3 separate regions of the Homo sapiens genome follow, and regions 2 and 3 are each linked to region 1. Evidence: promoter capture Hi-C in 16 types of primary human blood cells and fetal thymus (Javierre and others, 2016). All regions are on one chromosome and are shown on one strand. Each heading gives the region's core, a stretch centred on a gene start or on the middle of the fragment in contact. The rest is flanking DNA. Distances are from core to core; before and after follow the strand shown.

Evidence for each region. Contacts are between HindIII fragments. The CHiCAGO score rates a contact against its expected background, and 5 or more counts as called.
Region 2: a contact is called between a fragment that was not itself captured here and the fragment with the promoter of CACNA2D4 in region 1, in 4 of 17 cell types (activated CD4 T cells, megakaryocytes, fetal thymus and 1 more). The highest score is 5.9, in activated CD4 T cells.
Region 3: a fragment that was not itself captured here is called in contact with the fragment with the promoter of CACNA2D4 in region 1 in 5 of 17 cell types (neutrophils, non-activated CD4 T cells, monocytes and 2 more); the score reaches 7.8 in neutrophils.

The regions. Positions count from the first base shown.
Region 1 is chr12:1,916,439-1,920,828 of GRCh38, forward strand. CACNA2D4 (calcium voltage-gated channel auxiliary subunit alpha2delta 4) reads right to left here and starts at 2,214. Exons shown (of 38, transcript NM_172364.5): 1 at 1,809-2,214. The coding sequence starts at 2,035. RefSeq lists an enhancer at 287-863. The HindIII fragment of the contact is 3,790 bases long and covers 1-2,711 here.
Region 2 is chr12:1,630,790-1,635,179 of GRCh38, forward strand. It overlaps WNT5B (Wnt family member 5B), which reads left to right. Exons shown (of 5, transcript NM_032642.3): 2 at 509-645; 3 at 1,869-2,116. The coding sequence starts at 566. Among named protein-coding and RNA genes, the nearest start is that of WNT5B, 3.8 kb to the left of the region's middle. RefSeq lists an enhancer at 70-169. The HindIII fragment of the contact is 5,946 bases long and covers 1-4,390 here.
Region 3 is chr12:1,650,187-1,654,576 of GRCh38, forward strand. No RefSeq gene overlaps it. Among named protein-coding and RNA genes, the nearest start is that of MIR3649, 8.0 kb to the right of the region's middle. The HindIII fragment of the contact is 5,972 bases long and covers 1-4,390 here.

The sequences.
Region 1 (4,390 bases), core at 964-3,463:
GGGCTGGGAGTCATTGATGCAAAGGTAGGGATTGAAATTCTGAGGGCAGGAGGGCTCTCTCAAGGAGAGTGTGCAGCGTGAGATCTCTGAGCGTCGACAGCTGCTGGGGAGCACCCCCCACCTCCGGGGCAGGCAGAGGAGGAGGAGCACTTGAGGACAGCAGAGATAAGCCGTGCCCATGCAGGCCCAGCGGAGCGCAGTGCCACGGAAGTCAAGGACTGGGATAAAAGAAGACGGGGGCTTGTGTGTCCCAAGCAACAGGGTCTGGGGTGACAAGGCCAGGAATGTCTCCTGGATTGGGCATGAGGAGGGCTTTGGGAACCCTGTGGAAACAGACTTGGGAGGAGGTGGAAGCCCGGCTGGAGGGAAAGACTGAGAAGAGAGGTTCGGCGGGAGTGAGGACAGGTGGGGCCAAGTCCTGGGCAGGCAGATGAGGCTGTGTGCAGGCTGTTGTCTCTGGCAGCACCCAGGGCTTCTGCATAGATGGCCGCTGGGGCCCCCCTCCCTGAAGGCCTGGATTCCAGCCACCCCGACTTGGCCCTCAGCCCACTCCTGGAGTTGGCCCTCTCCTATCAGCTGGTGTGTGTTCTGGGGATGAAAATTGTTCTGAACATCTCCTGCAGCAACAGATAGCGTTACGGGCTGGCGGCGGGTGTAATGGTGAAAGTGCAGTCCAGGCTGACAGGAGTTCAAATCCCAGCACCTTCACTTCCTGGCCTTGTGAACTTGGGGAAGTCACCTGACCTCTCGGGGCCTCTGTTTCCTCAGCTGCAAAATAGGGATAAAAATAAGCCCCCACTGAATGGCTCTGCAAACTAACGGTGTCATTTGTGAAGCGCCCAGCTCCGTGCCAGGCAGGGAACAAGGAGAGCTATGCGGCTCGATGGGAAACGATGCTGCCTAATCCACTGGTCAGCAAAGGCTAAGCACAGGCACGGTGTGTCATTTAGGCTCCCTGTCCCCACTCCTGCTAAGACATGCAGTTGGCAGGTGGCTCTGTTGGTGGCCTGGCTATGGTGCTGGGCTCAAGCGGCTGGAGTAAACAGGATGGGGTCTGTAGCACCTACAGTCTAGAAGGCTCTGCTACCCACATGTATTGGAAATTTCCTTCCTAGGACCACCTGAGCTAGGGCCTAAAACACAGACACCCCAGAGAGGTTGCACAGTAATTTACATGTACACCAAGGTGCACATGACTGATACCGGGTTCTTTCCTGGAGCCGGTCTTAATGGCCGGCTAGAGAATCAAGGTTGGAAGGAGGCAGAAAGGTGTAGAAAGGGAAGACTGCGGCCACCAAAATCCATTTTTTTCCCCAGTTCCTGGACAAGCCACCTCCTGTGCGCATGAGACGTTCTGTGGGTTCAGAACTGCTTCCCCTTTTTGGAATGTCAAAATACGCATTTCCTGCCAAATGCTTCGGGGAGCTGCGATGCTGAGATAACCCGGCTCCTCCAGGCTGCCTCATCTCAGCGATTATCCTGAAGGAGCACCCGCCCTTCAGGTGTCCCAGAAGCTGCTTGTCAGGCCAGGAAGACAGCAGCCCTGATGATCAGTTCTTCCTAAAGCCATCCGGCTCCTGGGGAGAGGCAGGTGGGACTCCAGAACTCACAGAGCTTTTGGGAGGAGAAAGAGGAGGCCGGAGAAGCAAAGGGCTTTACAGCAAGAGAGTGGTCAGTCGCAGCCACTGGGGAAAAGCCCAGAGGGAGGGCAGGGGCGGGAGGAGTGGGCAGAGGATGGAGGCCCAGCCCGGGAAGAAAGTGGGAAAGGGTGACCGGGTTTTTGGGGTGGGGTTGAACGTGATGCTTACGTTTCCAGAGGAATCTTGGCCTGTCCCCACGCAGGGGACAGGGAGGTGCCTAGAAGCAGCAGCCACAGGAGGGCCGAGGTCTTCTGCACAAAGGCCCAGGCCACGGGCATTGGCTGGAGGGGAATCCAGCGGCTGCTGGAGCTGGGGTTTGCGAGGAAGTTGGGAGTTGCAGGCATGGTGGGCCTGGGGTTGGGGAGGGGAAGGAGGGCAGAGCAGCCACAGACCATGAGCTCTGTCTGCCTTCCTCCCAGACCCCAGGACGCCCCAGGCCTTTGTCTTCCGTGCCTTGGCGAGCCTGGGGTCTCCAGCCTCTCAGTCCTGGGTGGGGAGGGCTTCTCTCTGCCCCACAGCTGCAGCTCACAGAAGAGTCGCCCCACCTAGCAAGCAGGCCTCGGAGACAGGGACTGGGGGAGAGGCTGTGGCAACATGAAACCCTTTAATCCGCTGGCCTCTCCTCTAATCCTCTCCTGACAGCAGGGAGGGGGTGGCAGGGGGTGGGGAGCTGCCTCCCAAGATTACCACAACTGCAGCTGGTTCCCTCAGGGCTATAGTGCACCCCTCTGCTTTAAAGAGGCAGCCCCGTTCCTGTGGAACCACCTTCTGGACCCAGGAAGGGCTTGCTGTGACTATGGCCAGAGGACAGCAGCTGAGTTTGCACAGTACTCTGATTGACCCACAAATCTCTTGTTGACCCTGAGGTGGGGGTGTGTCCTCATCCCTGCTTGGCAGAGGCTCTTGAGGCCCGGGGAGTCCCAGGGGCAGAGCTGGGACTCTGGCTGGTGTTTCCAGGCCTGGTGCCTTTGGGACAGGTCATAGGTCATAGGTGAAGTCAGTGGACCCACGCCTCCACATCTCAGCTGCTCGTGGGCGGGGCTGGGGACGCATTTGCTGTGCAACTGATGAAGCTTCAGGACCCCTGAATCCACAGACTCCCCCCTTTCCCGGAGAGGCCCTAGCAATGTGTTCCTGTGGCCAAATGTTTTTGTAAAATATGCAAAAGTTGAGATAGTTTAACCATAACCGGTTGAGACTGTCTGTCTCTTTCCATCCCAACTTCTCTTCCGTCTGAGGGACTCTTAGTTGGATGATGTTTGGGTGGCTGAGGGCACTTGGGGGATCCAGTTAAGAGGAAAGTGAGCTGGGGAAACACTTAATCTGGGCTTAGTGGGATATGCTGACATGGTTCACAGTGACTTCTTTGTACAGAGAAGTTACCTCCAGCTGAGTGTAGGCAGGGCTTCCAGGAACACTCATCCCACAGGACATCCCACCAGCAGATGCAGCAAGAGAGGCTGGGCCGTGATGTGAGCGCACGCTGTCACACCCACCCTGGCCATGTGTGGTGGGGAGGGCAAAGTAACAGTCAGGAGCTCATCTGCAGAAAATCTACAAAAAGCCACACAGGTAACATCGTTGGTGGAGGATTTGGTTCTCACCAAGGCCTGGCCAGGACAGAAGTTCTCTCCTGTTAGGAAAATAGTGGATATTGAAAGAATATAATTACACCGTACATTGCTTTGTGTTCTGATGAGAGTTACACAAATTAGAATTGATCAAAATTCTTGTGTTGTGAGCCCAAACCAGTAGTAGTACCACATGGGTTCTCCGGGGGTGAAGTCATAGATTTTATGCAGTCCCCGTATCAGATTATTTTCTTAGTGTAACTGGTGCACTGTGTCTTCACAAAATCTGGTGGTTCCAGCAAAATGGTAAGCAAAATTGCCACCAACGCAGAGAAATGCTTGCAGAAGCAAGTGTTCTGATGACAAAACTCCTACACAGATTCATCAATAAGTCAGTGCTGTAGTATCAGAGTAATCTGGTGGCACAGTTTTGTGGCTGAATACAATGTATTTTTTAAAGGCATCTAAATGATTCCTATGAATGCCTTAATTTCACATAAATTTTGTACATGTTTTGAGGATTACAAATCAAACACATTTAGAAAAAATACTACAGAGGCACACTGGGCAGTCAATACATAAAAAGAATGTAACTTCTCTAGGTTTTGTGAATTTGGTGGAATTCACCAGCTTCTTAAAATTTGTAATTTGGAATGATTTTTAAAACTGAATAAATATTCACCTTTTTTCAACTTTTTTATTGTGGCCCAATATTTATTGTGGCATAAAATGTGCCATCTTAATCATCTTTTTAAGTGTACGGTTTAGTGTAATTAAATACATTAATCATGTTGCTCCACCTTCGCCGCCATCTATCTCTATAATTCGTTCATCTTGTAAAACTGAAACTCTGAACCCATTAAACACTAGCTCCCGTTCCCTCCTCCCCCAGCCGCTGGCGGCCACCACTCTCCTTTCTGTATCTCTGATGTTGACGGTTCTAGGGACCTCACAGAAGGGAAGTCATCACATAGTTGTCCTTCCATGACTGGCTCATTTCACTTAGCACAATGTCGGTAAGGTTCACCCACGGTGCCGCGTGTGTCAGAATTTCCTTACTTTTTGGGGGTGACCAATGATGGGTTAATATTTCATTGTGTGGATAGACCTCATTTTGTGCATCCGTTCCTCTATCGATGGACCCTGGGGTGGTGTCCTCCTTTTGGCTACTGTGAAATA
Region 2 (4,390 bases), core at 586-3,085, 290 kb before region 1:
CCTCCCTGGGTGCAGGTAAATCCAATTCACCAAAATGTTTTAATCCTACAAAGGAGAGCCTGAGGGTCAGAGAAATAAGTCTCTGGGCTGGAATGAGAGGTAGGCACGTGGGGGAGTGGATAGGATGGGCCCCATTTCTTTGGATGTTCTGCAGCAAGGACAGGTATGCTTTACAACAGCCGAAGTGGCCTCCCGGCTGCCGAACGGAGGAACGCCGCAAGCTCCGCTCTTGAAATTACTTGTTTTCATTTCTCTTTGTGGTTTCTCAGCTCATTATTTCTTTGGAAATTAGGTCCTGTGCAGGGTTCCCACAGTTTGGGGTAAGAGACAGAAGTCCTAGGGTGGGAAGATGAGCAGTGGGAGGCGGAGGCTGGAAAGAGGCCGAGCTTCTTTGTGGGGAACACGCAGCACGTAAGCATCAGTGCAACTTTCTCCGCCTCACCCCGGCTCCTGGTCTGCCCTTATCCGCTGAGTTTCCACACTGACTCTCCATTTCTGTTTTCTCCAGGGAACCCTACTCTGGAAACTGTCAGTCCCAGGGCACTGGGGAGGGCTGAGGCCGACCATGCCCAGCCTGCTGCTGCTGTTCACGGCTGCTCTGCTGTCCAGCTGGGCTCAGCTTCTGACAGACGCCAACTCCTGGTGGTGAGTAAGAGGGGCTGAGGTCCTGCCTGCACAGCCGGAGGCCTCCTTCAGCGACTGAGATGAGGAGGAAGGGCACCGTGTGTCACGGTAGTACCTTGATTCCTGGGAGTACTAAGGGCCTCTTTTATCCCAGGAAAACTAAGAACGCTCTGTGTCTCTCTCAACCCTTATCTTTGTAAGGGTTCCCTGAGGATAAAGGTTCCGTTCATTTGATTTTTTTCTCTAATCCTGTCCACATTCCTTTTCCTTGGACCTTCCCTCATGCCCATGAATTGTTAGAAATTGCTCTTGGGTCAACAAGAATATCAATACTTGGTAGTTTTTTGTTCCTTTGTTTTGTGTGTTTTGCTGGTAGGATATAGAATTCCTCTTTTATAAGTCTGAAGGCCAGATGAGGGGTTCACAGCACCATGGGTGGCTGGCTTTCTTCTTATGTTTTAAGGGCTGTTGTCATTGCCAAGTTGACAGGGAAATGGCAGGCGATCACCACCTATTTTGCATGGTCTCTGCCACTAGCATTTTTACTCAGATAGCAAATCTGCAGCCTTCTCATCTAACACTCTATATGGCTGGTAGATGATGAGCAAAAGGGAGAGCCTCTGAACTGGTGGAGAGTGGATGAGGGGAAGCTCAAAGTGAGACATGGCAGTGAAAACAAGTAGACTAGATCGTGATGTATGTAAAGTGATTGGATTTTAAAGGCCCAAAGGGAGTACCACGCAAAGGATTGATTGCTTTCCATGGCTTATCATGTACTTGGGCTGCACTGAACTAGTCACTCCTACTCATTGAATGAGGCCTGTGCTCTCCTGTTGAGGTTTGGCTCTTTTTGCCCTCTATTAAAATGAAGAGCTGCTCCCCACCCCTCGTCTTCTTATCTGCCTGACCCCCATTCTTAAGATCCAGTTCAAATTCTGGCCATTTCCTTATAAAGGCTTCTCTTCAGCCATAAGGGCTATTTTCCTATCTGATCACAGCAGATCCAGAAGCATATCCAGAGTCTGTCTGGGGCATTTGGCATCTCGCATGTCCTTTGTGTTCATGCCTCAGATTCCTTCAGTTTGTCCTTTGAAGGCCAGCACTCTGATTTACTAATTTTTCTTTCCAGGGCCTTGTACACAGGGACGCATTCAATAAATGTGTTGAATGAATGACTTAATGCTGCACACAGGCGTATGCTCACTCCTGGGCCTTTTTTTCCCCTTTCTGGATTGCTGTCCTAGGTCATTAGCTTTGAACCCGGTGCAGAGACCCGAGATGTTTATCATCGGTGCCCAGCCCGTGTGCAGTCAGCTTCCCGGGCTCTCCCCTGGCCAGAGGAAGCTGTGCCAATTGTACCAGGAGCACATGGCCTACATAGGGGAGGGAGCCAAGACTGGCATCAAGGAATGCCAGCACCAGTTCCGGCAGCGGCGGTGGAATTGCAGCACAGCGGACAACGCATCTGTCTTTGGGAGAGTCATGCAGATAGGTAAGAGGCCATTACAAGAGGGCTCGGCCAAGGAACTGCACTCGTCTCGTTTGGGAGCAATTAAGCTCTCTCAGGACTGGCACAGGGAGAGCCCAAAGGCAGCCTAAGTGGGCTCTCTCTAGGCTTGGCAGCAGTGTGCACCACGAGAGAGGCACACGAGGAAGCAGGCTCTGGGAGGCTGCAGAAACCACACGCTTGATGTTCCTCTAGCTCTCTGCCTTCCAGCCTCACTTGGGGCAGGTTGCTTGGGACTCACTGAGAGGGGGCAGGTTGCTTGGGACTCACTGAGAGGGGGCAGGACATCTGAGTTGACTTAGAGTGGATTAGGAGAGCCGCCCACCGCCACTGCCTTTGTGTCTCAGTGCAAAAAAGAGCCTTGGGTAGAGAACCAGAAATTGCAGCCCTGAATGTCTGTTGGATTTTTGCCTCTTCCACTTCAACCTTTGACAGAGAGATAGAAATGTCGGCCAAAGTGTTGATAGCTGTCACTAACCCAACCCCATCCAGTCCCAGCTTTTTCTTTTGAAAGAGATGTGTGAACATGGGGGAAGGGGTCAGACGAAAGAAAAGATGAGAGGGAGAGGGCCAAGTCTTCTGGATTCCTGTCCCTTCCCCTCTCCCACTGCTGGCCAAGGATTCTTGGGCCACCCTATTGCTTAGATGGAGGTGTGATCTGAGGTCTAATTGTTTTAGGTCCTTTTGAAATGCAATCCTCTCCTCTCTGGCAAGAAATTGAGAAATCCGGCCCTATTCTACTGGGTCTTATCCCCAGGGCCATAAAAGGGAAGTGTTAGAATGCTGTGTTCCTTCTGCCTGACATTCTCCCAGAACACCTCCCTTCAAAAGGTTACCTGAGGCTGGAGTTTCCCCAGAGAGGGATTTCAGCCTGGGAGGGGAGTTGGGGAGGTAGAGATTTCTTCGTGCTCCTCTCTTAGGGAGGATACTTGGAAGGCTCCTTCCCCCTCCCACTTATTCCAGACCTCTTTCCCTACCCTCTCTGTCCCATATTGAGAAGTAATGCCCAATGCAGTAGCTCACGCCTGTAATCCCAGCACCTTGGGAGGCTGAGGCAGGAGGATTCCTTGAGGCCAGGAGTTCAAGACCAGCCTGGGTAACATAGTGAGACCTCTGTCTCTATAAAAAAAATTTTTTTTTTCTAAAGAGAGAGAGGGAATTAAAGATGGGAAAAGTACACATTGAAACTTGCTGCTCTCTTGCTTCCTTCGGTATCAACTCAGGGTGCATAAAAGGAAGGTCCTAGTGTTCCTGGGGCAGCTTTCCCAAAAGAGTAGACTTGGGGTTTTAGTGGGATTTACTCATAGTTTATTGATTCTTCTCAAACCCACCTGGCACTTGTCTCTTCTTTCTGGCGAAAATCTTGGCAGCACTTCCTGCCCTGCGTTTTGGGCAATGAAACTAGGACGGCCCAGGTGCAGAGTCTCCTCTAATCTCTTCAGTGGAGTTAATGTTTATTGAAGACCTAAAGTAGGCCTGATGTTGGCTAGATCCTTTTCATGTGTATTTCGTGTGCATAAAGGCCCCAAAGTGAGGCTGTACTTTAGGAAAGAAAGGGGTTGGCAGGAAAAGACACTCCGCTGGGTTCAGATGTGCACTAGGTGGCCAGCGAAAGCAAACCCTGTCGAAGAGAGCCCATCTCTCTGTGCCCTATTCCGTTACAAAATGGAACCCTTCTGTTTGCCTAATTTTCCCCCTTCCTTTTTATAGCATCACTGAAGGCTCATGCTACCTAGGAGGCTGTCCTCCCTTCCTCCCCCCTGAGCCCAGAGTAGCTCCTGGTGAGTCCTCCCTCTCCCTATCTTGAGAAGGACCGTCTAAGGCTTCCTTTCTCCTTTGAAGCTGCTGCAAAAGTCGGTCACCAGAGGGCGGCAGAGCAGCTCGGAGGAGCCTCGGCCCGTTGCCCAGCTTCTGCCTAGGGAGTTTGGAGGCAACTTGGGCTGCTATGGAACAGAGAGGGCATGAAATTGTTCTGCTGTCTCCTGTAGGGAAAAGACGCATGTCCCTCTAGTAGCTCACGGCTGCTTTTTTTTAGCCGTTTATTCTTGAGATGGTTAGAGATTCAACCTGAACTGTTGCGTATATAGATAAACCCCCACGTTGCTTATCCATTCTGAAGCCCCGAATTATCTCTTTCTTGCTGAAGGTAGCAACAGTAGATGGTACTTAGTAGGCTTACCCAAGGGCCCAAAGGCTGCCCCGTGAAGGCAGAGCTGCCCACACTCAGCTTCTGATGAAGACCCGACTGAAAGAGGCAGG
Region 3 (4,390 bases), core at 596-3,095, 270 kb before region 1:
GGGGGTGGAGGTGGAGAGGCACCAGAGGCATGGAGTATGTAAAAAATTAAAAACAACTCAACACTTCTGGCTGAGACGTTGCAGAGCCTGGGTTGTCTATCTTTATTGGAAATGTTTGTCCTCTGCCTGGCTGGTGATGACAGGCTTCATATCTCTAGAAGGAATGTTGGGGAGCTGAGAAGGGCTGTGAGCCATGGTTGCTAAGTGTTACTGTTAGTTCTTTATTATGTAAGAATCTCTGCATTGTGTTTATACTAAAACAGTAAGTAAAGGGTGGGTGCTTTAATTCTGGTTTTACATAAGAAGTATGGGAGCTTGCCCATTTTTCTCTGAAGTAAGAAGATTTGGGCCCAGCAGTGAGGATCAGACGTCAGGCAGTGTGGAAGACTGAAGCCATCCACAGTTAATTTTCTAGCTTGTTGCAGAGTTTGGGCATTCCTCACGTAGATTCTCCAGTCCTTGCTTCCTCCCTCTTGCTGCAGGCCTTTTGGTCTTCATGCTGCTCATTTGCAGCCCTACCAGAAGCAGCAGTAGAAGACAGAGCTGAATCAGTTAATTTAGGCCTTCTAAGTCGTTGTGATAAACAACTGGGTGGGAGGAGGGATGGTTCCAATGAGATTTTAAGAATTACAGATGTATGTGTATTATCTGCTGCTCCACAGGAGAACTGAAAATAGACTGAAAGCTGCTCACAGCCAAAGCCAGAAGGAAACTGCAGTATTGACAGAGAGAGAGAAAGAGAGAGAAAGAAACAGACTCAAATCACTCGGGGCAAGAGAGGGTTTGCTGGTGTGGAAACCGGGTGGTGGGGAGGCTTTCAGCAGAATATCAGGAGGGGACTTCAGCAGGGACCCAAGGAAAGACGTGAAAGAACAGACACTATAGAAAAGGTGAACCCTTTTGATCCAATCTCACTGTAAAGCCAAAAGGAGTGAGTACTGTTTGAAGTGACCCTGGCCTCATTCCATATTGGTGCTCTGCCTGTTGGGTCAGCCAGCTCTTCGGCTGGTCCCTGATTTGGAAGTTACGTCTTTCGTATATTTATTTCCAGAGACTTCTTAGCAGCAGTTACGTTTCATAAGGGAAGTTTTGATACCTCTTTTGTTCCCTGCTATGTCTGCCATCACCCACAACAGTGCCTAGCACAAAGAAAGCACTCAATAGATATTTGCTGAGTGAATGAATGAATGATGTTTCTTCATGAACAGACAAGGAAACTGAGGCATAATGTGATTAACTGCGTGGTCCATCATATCATTTGTTCTATCAAAATTGCAAGTAATAGAAACCAATTTGAGTCAGATTATGAAGAAGGAGTATGACATGAGGGTCCCAAGAGTCTCAAAGACGCCAGGGTCTTCAGGAGCTGACCTGGACACCTCTGGATCCCTCTCCCTTCCTCCTCTCTCCTCTGAGGTCTCTCTCTCTCTCTCTCTCTCTCTCTCTCTCTCTCTCACAGTTCCAGCCCCAGGAAGGGACTCTGAATCTCTCCTGGTCCTTGTCCCAGATTCCCAGGAGGGGCTTCTGGTCAGGGCTCTGTCCACCATTGCATGACTTTGCAGCAGTTCAAGTCAATGAGTGGAGGGGCTGAAGAACTCATCAAGGTGAGAGGAACTGCTCACGTTCTCATAAATTTCTCGGCGGATGGTTAGATCCAGAGAACACATAATCCAGTTGGTGTGAATGAGACCCCTAAGTATTTACTCTGGAAATTCTCATGATAGCTTTACTGAGGAGTCTTTTATCTGTGAAAATGCATAATTATGGAACAAGTCCTGAGGATTGTCTAAAATAAGGAAAAACCTGAGCCCACTAGTGTGAAGAGGAAGGCTTCTGTTCTCTGAATAACCCAGGATAGGACACACACCCATTCATCTACCTTGCAGGGTTCAGGCAGCCAAGTTGCTAAGAAGCAGAGAATAGACTAGAGTCAGTGACAGCCCCTGGCTGGTATTCTGCCCTGCAGGTGCATTCATTTTTCAATACTGAGCTGTATTTGAAGGCCAGTCATCCCTGTGGATGATTTAAAGGTATCTTCCCTCTGACAGGACCACTCTACAGTATCAATTGCTTCCTTCATACATTTTCCTCATTCTTCAAGGTCTGAGCATGCCAAAAAGTAAGACCTGAGAGGGGTAAGGGTTGCCAGGATGTTTCTGCAAATCTTCCACGGCTCTTGGGGGCACCCAGCAGGCATTTGAAAACTGACTTACAGCCGGGTGTGGTGGCTCACGCCTGTAACCCCAGCACTTTGGGAGGCCAAGGCAGGCGGATCACCTGAGGTCAGGAGTTCGAGACCAGCCTGGCCAACATGGTGAAACCCCGTCTCTACTAAAAAATACAAAAATTAGCCGGGCGTGGTGGTGGGTGCCTGTAATCCCAGCTACTTGGGAGGTTGAGGCAAGGAGAATCGCTTGAACCCGGGAGGCGGAGGTGGCAGTGAGCTGAGATGGCACCATTGCACCTCCAGCAGCCTGGGCAAATACAGCGAAACTCTGTCTCAAAAAGAAGAAAGAAAGAAAGAAAGAAAACTGACTTACGCCCTGTGGCTGGCCTTCTTTTGTCCTTTTTGTTTTGACAGCAAAAGCCATATAGACCTTGAATGCTATGACAGGCAGGACACGTCTGTGAAATAGGAAATAATTACACTCACGCTTTTTAGGTGCTATGTTTCCTTCCTCATTTTATTTTCTAACATGCAAGTAAACTTTTTAATGGACCTAACGTCTCATCTGACAGATATCACGGCCTTAGGTCGGAGCAAATGATCAGCCTGGAACCCACTCCAGACTGGTCTGCAGTTCTGCATGTGACCACACAGTGTCGCTATCTTCTCAGTTCTAGCCGAATAGCTCTGGCCCGCACCTTGGTTCAAAAAAACATTTTTTTTTTTTTTTTTTTGGCTGGGCGCGGTGGCTCACACCTGTAATCCCAGCACTTTGGGAGGCCGAAGCGGGGGGGGGGGGGGATCACTTGAGGTCAGGAGTTCGAGACCAGCCTGGCCAACAAGGTGAAACCCTATCTCTATTAAAAATACAAAAAAATTAGGCAGGTGTGGTAGCCTGCACCCCCGTAATCCCAGCTACTGAGTAGGCTGAGGCAGGAGAATCGCTTGAACTGGGAGGGAGAGGTTGTGGTAAGTGGAGACCATGCCACTGCACTCCAGCCTGGGCGACAGAGCAAGGCTCTGTCTCAAAAAAAAATTGTAAATTTAAAAAAAAGTTGGGTGGTGTGTCCTTGCGGATTGATGGCAGAAAACAGAATCTGGAGAGCAGCAAAGCTGAGTTCTAGATTTTTCATTTGGATAAATGTGGGAAGAATTAGGTCAGTCTTATTTTACTTAGTTTTAAAAGAATGAGTGAGGAGGGCAATGCAGTTAGGAAAGAAAACATGAAAGGAATGCCTTGTCCTGCTCGGCTGGACCCTCAAGACACCCACAGTACTTTTCATGCTTGAAGATTATGATGAAGGAGGTGAGTAATAATTATAGCTACCATTTATTGAGTACTACTGTGTACCAGCTGCTTTACATACATTACATGTAATCCTCTCAGGGCCTCTGCAGTGTAGCCAATATTATCCACGTGTTTCAGATGGGAAAGCTAACACTCAGAGTGGTGAAGCGGCATCCCTCACCTCACACAGCTAGTAATTCATGCTGACTCCAGACCTCTTTCAGGTGGATTTCTGGGTAAGGAATCTGGTCAGCTGAAATAACAGGTGCCCATTTCCTTCTAAGTCTCAGGGAGTGTACAATAATCTTCCTCGTCTTGCCACCATGAATGTTGAATGAGAAGAGTGACTAGAGAGATTTCATTTGGTAGGGGCATATGGCAGGGGGAACTTGGGGATCCCAAATCTAAAGTAAACAGGCAAGGTGCGGTGGCTCATGCCTGCAATCCCAAGATTTTGGGGGTGCTGAGGCAGGGGGATCACTTGAGACCAGGAGTTTGAACCAGCCTGAGCAACACAGTGAGACCCTGTTTCCACAAAAAAAAAAAAAAAAAAAAAAAAAAGGCTGAATGCAGTGGCTTATGCCTGTAATCCCAGCCCTTTGGGAGGCTGAAGTAGACGGATTGCATGAGTCTAGGAGTTCGAGACCAGCCTGGGCAACATAGTGAGACCCTGTCTCTATTAAAAAAACACAAAAAATTAGCTGGGCATGGTGGTGCCTGCCTGTAGTCCCAGCTACTCAGGAGGCAAAAGTGGGAGGATCACCTGAGCACAAGAGTTCGAGGCTGCAGTGAGCCATGATCACGCCACTGCATTCCTTCCAGCCTGGGTAACAGTGAGACCCTGTATAAAAAAAAAACCAGGCATGGTGGCACATACCTGTAGTCCCAGCTACTGGCCGGGGGTGAGGTGGGAGGATTGCTTGAGCCTAGGAGTT